3 separate regions of the Homo sapiens genome follow, and all the other regions are linked to region 1. The links are contacts of gene promoters, found by promoter capture Hi-C in blood cells and fetal thymus (Javierre and others, 2016). All regions are on one chromosome and are shown on one strand. Each heading gives the region's core, a stretch centred on a gene start or on the middle of the fragment in contact. The rest is flanking DNA. Distances are from core to core; before and after follow the strand shown. Region 1 holds the start of ATP13A1 (ATPase 13A1). Region 2 overlaps ZNF43 (zinc finger protein 43). Region 3 holds the start of ZNF100 (zinc finger protein 100).

Region 1 (2,639 bases), core at 46-2,545:
TTCTGTAGCCCTTGATGCTGTTCCCTTTTCCTCTTCTTGAGGCAAACACACTCCTGGAATCAGAGGGGAAGCTTCCTGATATACCTCAGTGTCCATGGCTCCAAACCTGCTGGTGTCACCTGAGGCAGGCCCAGAGAGAGACGACACAGTCACTGCTTCAGGCCCAGGGAAGCTCACAGTCACCAACTCCTCCGACGACACTTGGTCACTCAGAACTCTAAACTGTGGGTCAGGAGCGCGACCTTGCTTGCTGTTGTATCCCCGACAGAACTCAGTATCACCACCCTCATTTTGCGGAAAGACATCATGTAAATGACTCGCTCATAAACACCTCTGCCTCTCTTCAACACTGTAATTAACTGCATTTCATGCTCCTTTCCATCACAGTATGGAAGACCACTAAGCACTGGACAGCAAGACTTGGTTCAGTCTAAGAACCAACTAAGCTTCATAGATGGGGGAAACCTATCCCAGTGATCTCGCCTTACACTTTGAAAACCAAGGTAGGAGACAGATGAGATGGAAGGTAGGGCCGTTTCCAGAACAAGAGTAGTCGCTAATATGGGAACTAGTATAAACAACTCCTACCTGACCTGGGCGACGTATGCTGGGCCCTGCGCTAAGCCTTTTACAAGTATTACATCACTGAATCTAAATGACCATAACAGGGAGGACTTCAGAAAAAGGAAATAACCCGCACCAGGCATGCACAGCAAGTCAGCAGTGGGGTCATGATTAAGCCTGCGCCAAAGTGTAGAGGGTGCCCCTGGGAATCCAGGCCAGGCAGATGAGTGGCCCAGGTCGCGATGGTGACCGACAGGAAGGCCGCAGCTGGGACCCACGGCGAGGCTCGACCGTGCTGGGGGTCGGGCTCGCGTGTACACACTTACCGGGGTGCAGGTGAGCGCGCAATGCGCGTGCACAGACCAATGCCCCGAGAGGACAGTGAGCGCGTGCGCGAGGCAGATGGTGGCAAGCACGAGCAGCGCAGCTTCGGGGATCTGCACCCAACTGCTGCCCCAGCCCCAGCAGCCAGCGGCTGCGGCACCCAACCAGGCCGGGTAAAGCAGCCCGGCGAATGGCAGCACCGTGAGGCGCCGCAACAGCGCCAACCGCCGGTACGGCCACACGGCAGCCACCAGCTCGTCACCGTTCGCTATGAGCGCCGGCCCGGCGGCAAGGAGCGCGCGCGGCTGCGGCCCGGGCTTGGGCTGCCCGTCAGGCCGGACCCCGCAAGGCCGGGCCCCGCAGGGCACCGCGTTGCCCACCGCCGCCGCTGCCGCCATCTTTCCTAGCGCCGCGCTCACTTCCGGGCAGAGGAACGCCTCACTTCCGAAGTTTTACTTCCGGTAAGCCCTGAGCGCCGCCATGGCAGCCTGGACTAGGAAGAGCCAGGGCAACAGAACAGGCTGGCCCCGGCAGGGACTACTTCGGGTGCCGCCATGACAGGCTGTGGCCGGAAGAAGAGGCTGGGCGTCGCCATGACAGAGAGGGACTGGAAGACCTAACGGTGCCTGCCTCCGCTGCCACGCCGGACTGAGACCGGAAAAGACAAGGCCGGCAAGGCGGGCTTGGGCGCCACCATGACAACCTGAACCAAAAAAAGCGAGCCCTCCTCCTTGACTACACCAGCACCACCTGTCACCAGGGGCGAAGCCTGGACCCTGCGGAGGCGGGGTCGGGAGCTTCGGAGTTCAGGAGGCGGGGCCCGGTGCGGGGGGCGGGGCTTGTGAGGGGCGGGGTCGGGGACCGCCCCGGAACACAACCACACCGGACAAGAGCCTTAATGTGATAGATAAGAATTACAAATACTAGCCGGGCGCGGTGGCTCACGCCTGTAATCCCAACACTTTGGGAGGCGAGGCGGGTGGATCACCTGAGATCAGGAGTTCAAGACCCAACATGGTGAAACCACGTCTCTACTAAAAATACAAAAATTAGCCGGGCGTGGTGGCACATGCCTGTAATCCCAGCTACTCGGGAGGATGAGGCAGGAGAATTGCTTGAGCCCGGGAGACGGAGGTTGCAGTGAGCCAAGATTGCTCCACTGCACTTCAGCCTGGCCAACAGAGCAAGACTGTCTCAAAAAAAAAAAAAAGAAAAATGAATTACAAAAACCACTTTAGGCCGGGCGCGGTGGCTCACGCCTGTAATCCCAGCACTTTGGGAGGCCGAGGTCAGGAGATCGAGACCATCCTGGCTAACGCGGTGAAACCCCGTCTCCACTAAAAATACAAAAAAAAAAAAAAAATTCTCCGGGCGTGGTGGCGGGCGCCTGTAGTCCCAGCTACTCCGGAGCCTGAGGCAGAATGGCGCGAACTGGAGAGGCAGAGCTTGCAGTGAGCGGAGATTGTGCCACTGCCCTCCAGCCTGGGCGACAGAGCGAGACTCTGTCTCCAAAAAAAAAAAAAAAAAAAAAAAGAAATTACCACTTTAACATAAAAAATGAAAAACTGGTGTTTACTTGAAATTATATACTTCTAGGCCGGGCGCGGTGGCTCACCCCTGTAATTCCAGCACTTTGGGAGGCCGAGGCGGGCGGATCACGAGTTCAGGAGATCGAGACCGTCCTGGCTAACACAGTGAAACCCCGTCTCTACTAAAAATACAAAAAATTAGCCGGGCGTGGTTGCAGGCGC
Region 2 (2,639 bases), core at 62-2,561, 2.2 Mb after region 1:
CTAAAAGTACAAAATTTAGCCAGGCATGGTGGCACATGCCTGTAACCCCAGCTACTCAGGAGGCTGAGGCAGGAGAATCACTTGAACCCAGTAGGCGGAGGTTGCAGTAAGCTGAGATCATGCCATTGTACTCCAGCCTGGGCAACAGGAGTGAAACTCCGTCTCAAAAAAAGTAAATTTAAGGAAAAAAAAAAAATACAGCCGGACGCGGTGGCTCACGCCTGTAATCCCAGCACTTTGGGAGGCCGCAGCGAGCAGATCACGAGGTCAGGAGATCGAGACCATCCTGGCTAACACGGTGAAACCCCGTCTCTACTAAAAATACAAAAAAATAGCCGGGTGCCCTGGCGGGCGCCTATACTCCCAGCTACTTGGGAGGCTGAGCCAGGAGAATGGCGTGAACCAGGGAGGCGGAGATCGCAGTGAGCCAAAATGGCGCCACTGCACTCCAGCCTGGGCGAAAGAGAGAGACTCTGTCTCAAAAAAAAAAAAAAAAAAAAAAAAAAAAAAAAATTAGCCGGACGTGGTGGCACGTGCCTGTAGTCCCAGCTACTCCAGCTACTCAGGAGGCTAAGGCAGGAGAATCGCTTGAACCCATGAGGCAGAGGTCACAGTGAACCGAGATCGTGCCACTGCACTCGAGCCTGGGTGACAGAGTGAGACTCCATCACAAAGGAAAAAAAAACAAAAAACACCACACACAAAAAAAACTACACAGACTCCAAGGTTGAGTTTACACACTGAACTGTTCTTGCTTTTGCAGTGTAAGTACTTCAGCCTGCAAATATTAGATTACCTTGGATTATCAGTTTTCTGTCAAAGAAATTTATTCAGTATTTTTTAGTTTTTACCATTCTGTATTTCTAAATTTAATTCGTTCTTCGTACTAAACTTCTGTGTGCTCTTAAAATGAGCTTTAATCTAAACAAATCTGTGTCTACTTTAAAAGACTAAAAAAAAAATTAAATTTTCCCAAATCAAGGATAAGCAATGAATCTGAGGTCTTAAATAAAGACAATCTTGAGTCAAAAGAATGCCAAAAGATTTGGCTGTTAATATGATTTAAATATATTTCAAAAAAGCAATAAAAATATCTCCATATAATCTAAATGCTTTAAGATAAAAGAGTTGAACAAGATAGTCTCTCTTATTTTCAGGTAGGATAATAAAGCCTCTGATTTATATTTTCTTTTACAACAGCCAGGTCTCTGGACATATTGAACTCTTGAACATCTGAATTTCAGTAGACATTGGATTCATTGAGCTCCGTCTCAAAAAACAAAAAAACACAAAACCTGACATCATAAAAGAACAAGAGAAGAAAAAGCAAACTGACCTCTAAGCTAACAGAGGACAAGAAATGAAAATCAGATCTGAACTGGAGAGTTAGACAAAAAAATGATAAAAATATGGAGAAGGCTGGGTGCAGTGGCTCACCCCTGTAATCGCAGCATTTTGGGAGGCCGAGGTGGGCAGATCACTTGAGGTCTGGAGTTCGAGACCAGCCTGGCAAAATAGTGAAACCCGGTCTCTACTAAAAATACAAAAATTGGCCATGTGTATTGGTGGGCACCTGTAATCCCAGCTACTCAGGAGGCTGAGGCAGGAGAATTGCTTGAACCAGGGAGGCGGAGGTTGCAGTGAGGCGGAGGTTGCAGTGAGGCAAGGTTGTGCCACTGCACTCCAGCCTGGGCAATAGAGAGAGATTCTGTTTCAAAAACAAAATGAAAAAAAAAAACAAAACAAAAAACAAACAAACAAACAAAAAAAGAAATCCAGGAGTAAAATCTTTGAAAGAATTAATAAGATAAATAGCACTCTAGAGAGATTAATGAAGAAAGAGAAGATCCAAATAAACACGATTAGAAATGACAAAATGGCCATTAACACTGACCCAACAACAACAAAATAATTATTCAAGTCTGTAACGAACACCTCTATGTAAACAAACCGGAAAATCTAGAATAGATCAATTCCTAGACACGTACATCCTCCAAAGACTGAAAAAAAAAAAAAAAGTATCCCTGAAGAGACCAACAAGATTCAAAATTGAAGTATAATAAATAGCCTAGAAACCAATAAAAAACCAGAATCAGACATATTCACAAAAGAATTCTACCAGATGTACAAAAAAAAAAAAGCTGATACCATTCTTACTAGAGCCATTCCAAAAAATTGAGAAGGAACTCTTCCCCAACTCATTACATAATAGCATTATTCTGATACCAAAACCTGGTATAAAACAAAAAAAGAAAACTTCATGCCAATGATCTTAATAAAAAATGATGGAAAAATTCTCAACAAAATACTGGCAAACTGAATCCAGCAGCACATCAAAAAGCTAATCTACTATGATCAAGTAGCCTATATCCCTGGGATGCAAGGTTATTTCAACATACACAAATCAATAAATGTGATTAATCACATAAACAGAACTAAAGACCAAAACCACAAGATTATCTCAATAGATGCAGAAAAATCTTTCAAGAAAATTTAACATTCTTCATGTTAAAACCCTCAACGAACTAGGCATTAAAGGTACATACTTCAAAATAATGAGTTATCTGTCACAAACTCAAAGCCAATACACTGAATGGACACACAGAAGTTGGAAGCATTTCTCTTTGAAAACTGGCACA
Region 3 (2,639 bases), core at 46-2,545, 2.1 Mb after region 1:
GGGGGTTAGACTTAACAACCTGCTTGGGACACAGGTGAAAAATGCAGCAGAAAATCAGTTCCCCGTGGAGTGTGAAAATAATTAAGAGACAGGCAATTCCACTGAGGTGTCTCTAGTCCCTGGGTTCCTACTTAAAAAAAAAAAAAATCTAACTCAGGTGCATTTTTTTTTTAATTACTACATTCAGAGAAAATGTAGGCTTAAACAACTATAAACTGTTAATTAACCTCTGATTACACAACCAGGAAATCTTCACCTGTATTGTACAAATCAAGAAACTACGTTACTGTAACCAATTACTAAATTTAGTTTTCTTCATCATACATTTTATAAATGACTTTCCTTCAAGCCTCTCCCATAGACAACAAACTACAAACCATAGCTGGATACTCTATGATTCTTGAATCACTGTTTGATTAAATTCTTTAGGCCAGGCGCGGTGGCTCACGCCTGTAATCCCAGCACTTTAGGAGGCCAAGGCGGGCGGATCACGAGGTCAGGAGTTCAAGACCAGCCTGGCCAACGAGGTGAAACCCCGTCCCAACTAAAAATACAAAAAAATAAGGCCGGCCCAGTGACAGGCGCCTGTAATCCCAGTTACTCGGGAGGCTGAGCCAGGAGAATCTCCAGAACCCGGGAGGCGGAGGTTGCAGTGAGGGGAGATCGCGCCACTAAACCCTAGCCTGGGCGACAGAGCGACTCCGTCTCAAACAAACAAAAAAATCGTTAATATTTGTGCAGTGACTCCCATACATTTTTAATAGGAGAAAAGAGGAACTGGGAAAGCCACGGACCAAAGATCTTCCCATTCATGAACCCGCACCCCGAGTCAGGATTTTCCCCTGACGACCCTCCCGTGGTCCCTGCACAATCTGAGAGAGACGCGGCGCTGCGGGTGCAGAGCTGCCAAGAGAGGGCTCCAGGCCAAGGCACAGTCACTACGCAGGGAAGAGAAAGGACGCCTGGGGTCCTGGCTGTCAGCGCAGCCGCCATCTTATGGCCGAAGGGGACGGAGGCCGAGCTGGGCAAGGCGCAGATTGTGAAGCTGACTGCGGAGAGGCCTGAGTCCCGCCACAGCTACTTCCCACCAGTTCCAACCAGCCCTTTCGCCGTCTCTCGGGATGTCGGACCGGGCACTCTCACCATTTCTAGGCTTCTAGGGGGTCCTGGCGTCTTAGCTGTGGATCTCCCAATATCTGCAGGTCAGAGGGCCACACAGGCTAGGCCCCTAGGAGCAGAAGACACAGAGAAGTGAGAGCAAAACCTGGAGCTCCGGCTACAGCGAGAGACAAAGACCCCGCCAAACCCGGAAGCCGTCCAGTCCGCTCCAGCTGCATGCCTGATTGGACGGTTTCCAGCCCAGCGTCCCTGGTTGGATAATGCTTAAATCCCCGCCCTGTCAGGCTTTGAGTGACAGAAGATGTGATCAGATGCGGGTTCAATGAAGAAAGAGTGACAGCCTAGACTGCCCCCTCTTCTGACAGGGCTTCCTCCCTCAGCTGAGCTAGGCCCATCCCAGAGAGTATTTGCCTTTAAATTTGTGTATAAGGTCATATGTATAAATAAATAATACATTATATAGCTATACACAAGTGAAAAGAATATAACAATTATTTTAAAATTTCAGCTTTTATGACCTTCCTGGCTTCTGGCCCTTTGAGCAGGCAGCCTGAGATTTTAGAAAAGAGAAAATCATCTAAAATGAATGTCAGCCACATGTGGATTTGAAATTTTCTAGTAGCCAAACTTTAAAAAGAAACAAGTTGAACTGATTGTTAACAATGTAATTCACCCATTATATTCAAAATATTATCATTTTAATGTGTGAGAAATATGTAATTATTGATAAAATATATAAATATTTGGAACTAAATCTTTGAAGCTGACTTTGTATTTTACCTTTCTAGCATATCGCATTTCAGACCAGGCACATTGTGGGAACCCAGTAGCCACACATGGACAATAGCTGTCACATTGAAGTGCAGCTCTGATGTCAGCGGTGTGAAGGGCCTGAACATCTCTTTCCTGCGAGAGTGAAAGAAGAGACTCTCCCTACAAACATCTCTCTTTGGTTCCTAGGGTGGACCAGATAGTTCCCATAGAAAGAGCTGAGGGCAGTAGGAATAAAATAGCCACAGGTAATAAACAACTGCTGGCCACCTGTTGCCCACCTTTCTTTTAGAGACCAGATAGTGAACAAAGGATGATGGGGCCACAGGAGAAAAAACAACTATGTCTTCAGTTCTGTCCACACACTTGAACTCCAGTATTTAGAGATGGAGAAAATAGATTAAAAACAAACATAGTTTGCTATATGGTCTTGGCCCTAACAATCAGGCTGTGTTTATCTGTTTTCTCCTGTGGTGTGGGGGACTATGTGAGTCTAAGCACCAATCACACGCATACATGTCTACAGGTATTTCTGCATTACCCAAAATTCTCTTACAAAACATCGAACTTTAAATCAGGGGAAGAAATCAGTACCTAGAGGGTGTCCACTGTTAGAAGCCAACTCTTAGTCAACCTGTCACTGAATCCTGGCAACTTATCTGTACTGGGTGCATGTATTAGTTAGCTATTGAGGCATAACAAATCATCCAAAACTTATTAGTTTATAATTGAAATGGTTGGCCATTTAG

The links. The method cuts DNA at HindIII sites, captures the fragments that hold promoters and counts their contacts. A CHiCAGO score of 5 or more calls a contact.
Region 2: a fragment that was not itself captured here is called in contact with the fragment with the promoter of ATP13A1 in region 1 in 1 of 17 cell types (monocytes); the score reaches 6.0 in monocytes.
Region 3: a contact is called between the fragment with the promoter of ZNF100 here and the fragment with the promoter of ATP13A1 in region 1, in 1 of 17 cell types (M0 macrophages). The highest score is 5.8, in M0 macrophages.

The regions. Positions count from the first base shown.
Region 1 is chr19:19,662,381-19,665,019 of GRCh38, forward strand. ATP13A1 (ATPase 13A1) reads right to left here and starts at 1,296. Exons shown (of 26, transcript NM_020410.3): 1 at 891-1,296. The coding sequence starts at 1,286. RefSeq lists enhancers at 463-512, 644-1,626, 898-999, 1,343-1,632 and silencers at 1,033-1,292, 1,733-1,782. The HindIII fragment of the contact is 4,289 bases long and covers 445-2,639 here.
Region 2 is chr19:21,828,553-21,831,191 of GRCh38, forward strand. The region is part of intron 1 of ZNF43 (zinc finger protein 43); the gene reads right to left. Among named protein-coding and RNA genes, the nearest start is that of ZNF43, 6.3 kb to the right of the region's middle. The HindIII fragment of the contact is 3,605 bases long and covers 1-2,639 here.
Region 3 is chr19:21,766,284-21,768,922 of GRCh38, forward strand. It overlaps ZNF100 (zinc finger protein 100), which reads right to left and starts at 1,296. Exons shown (of 5, transcript NM_173531.4): 1 at 1,144-1,296. The coding sequence starts at 1,146. RefSeq lists a silencer at 1,283-1,460. The HindIII fragment of the contact is 10,466 bases long and covers 1-2,639 here.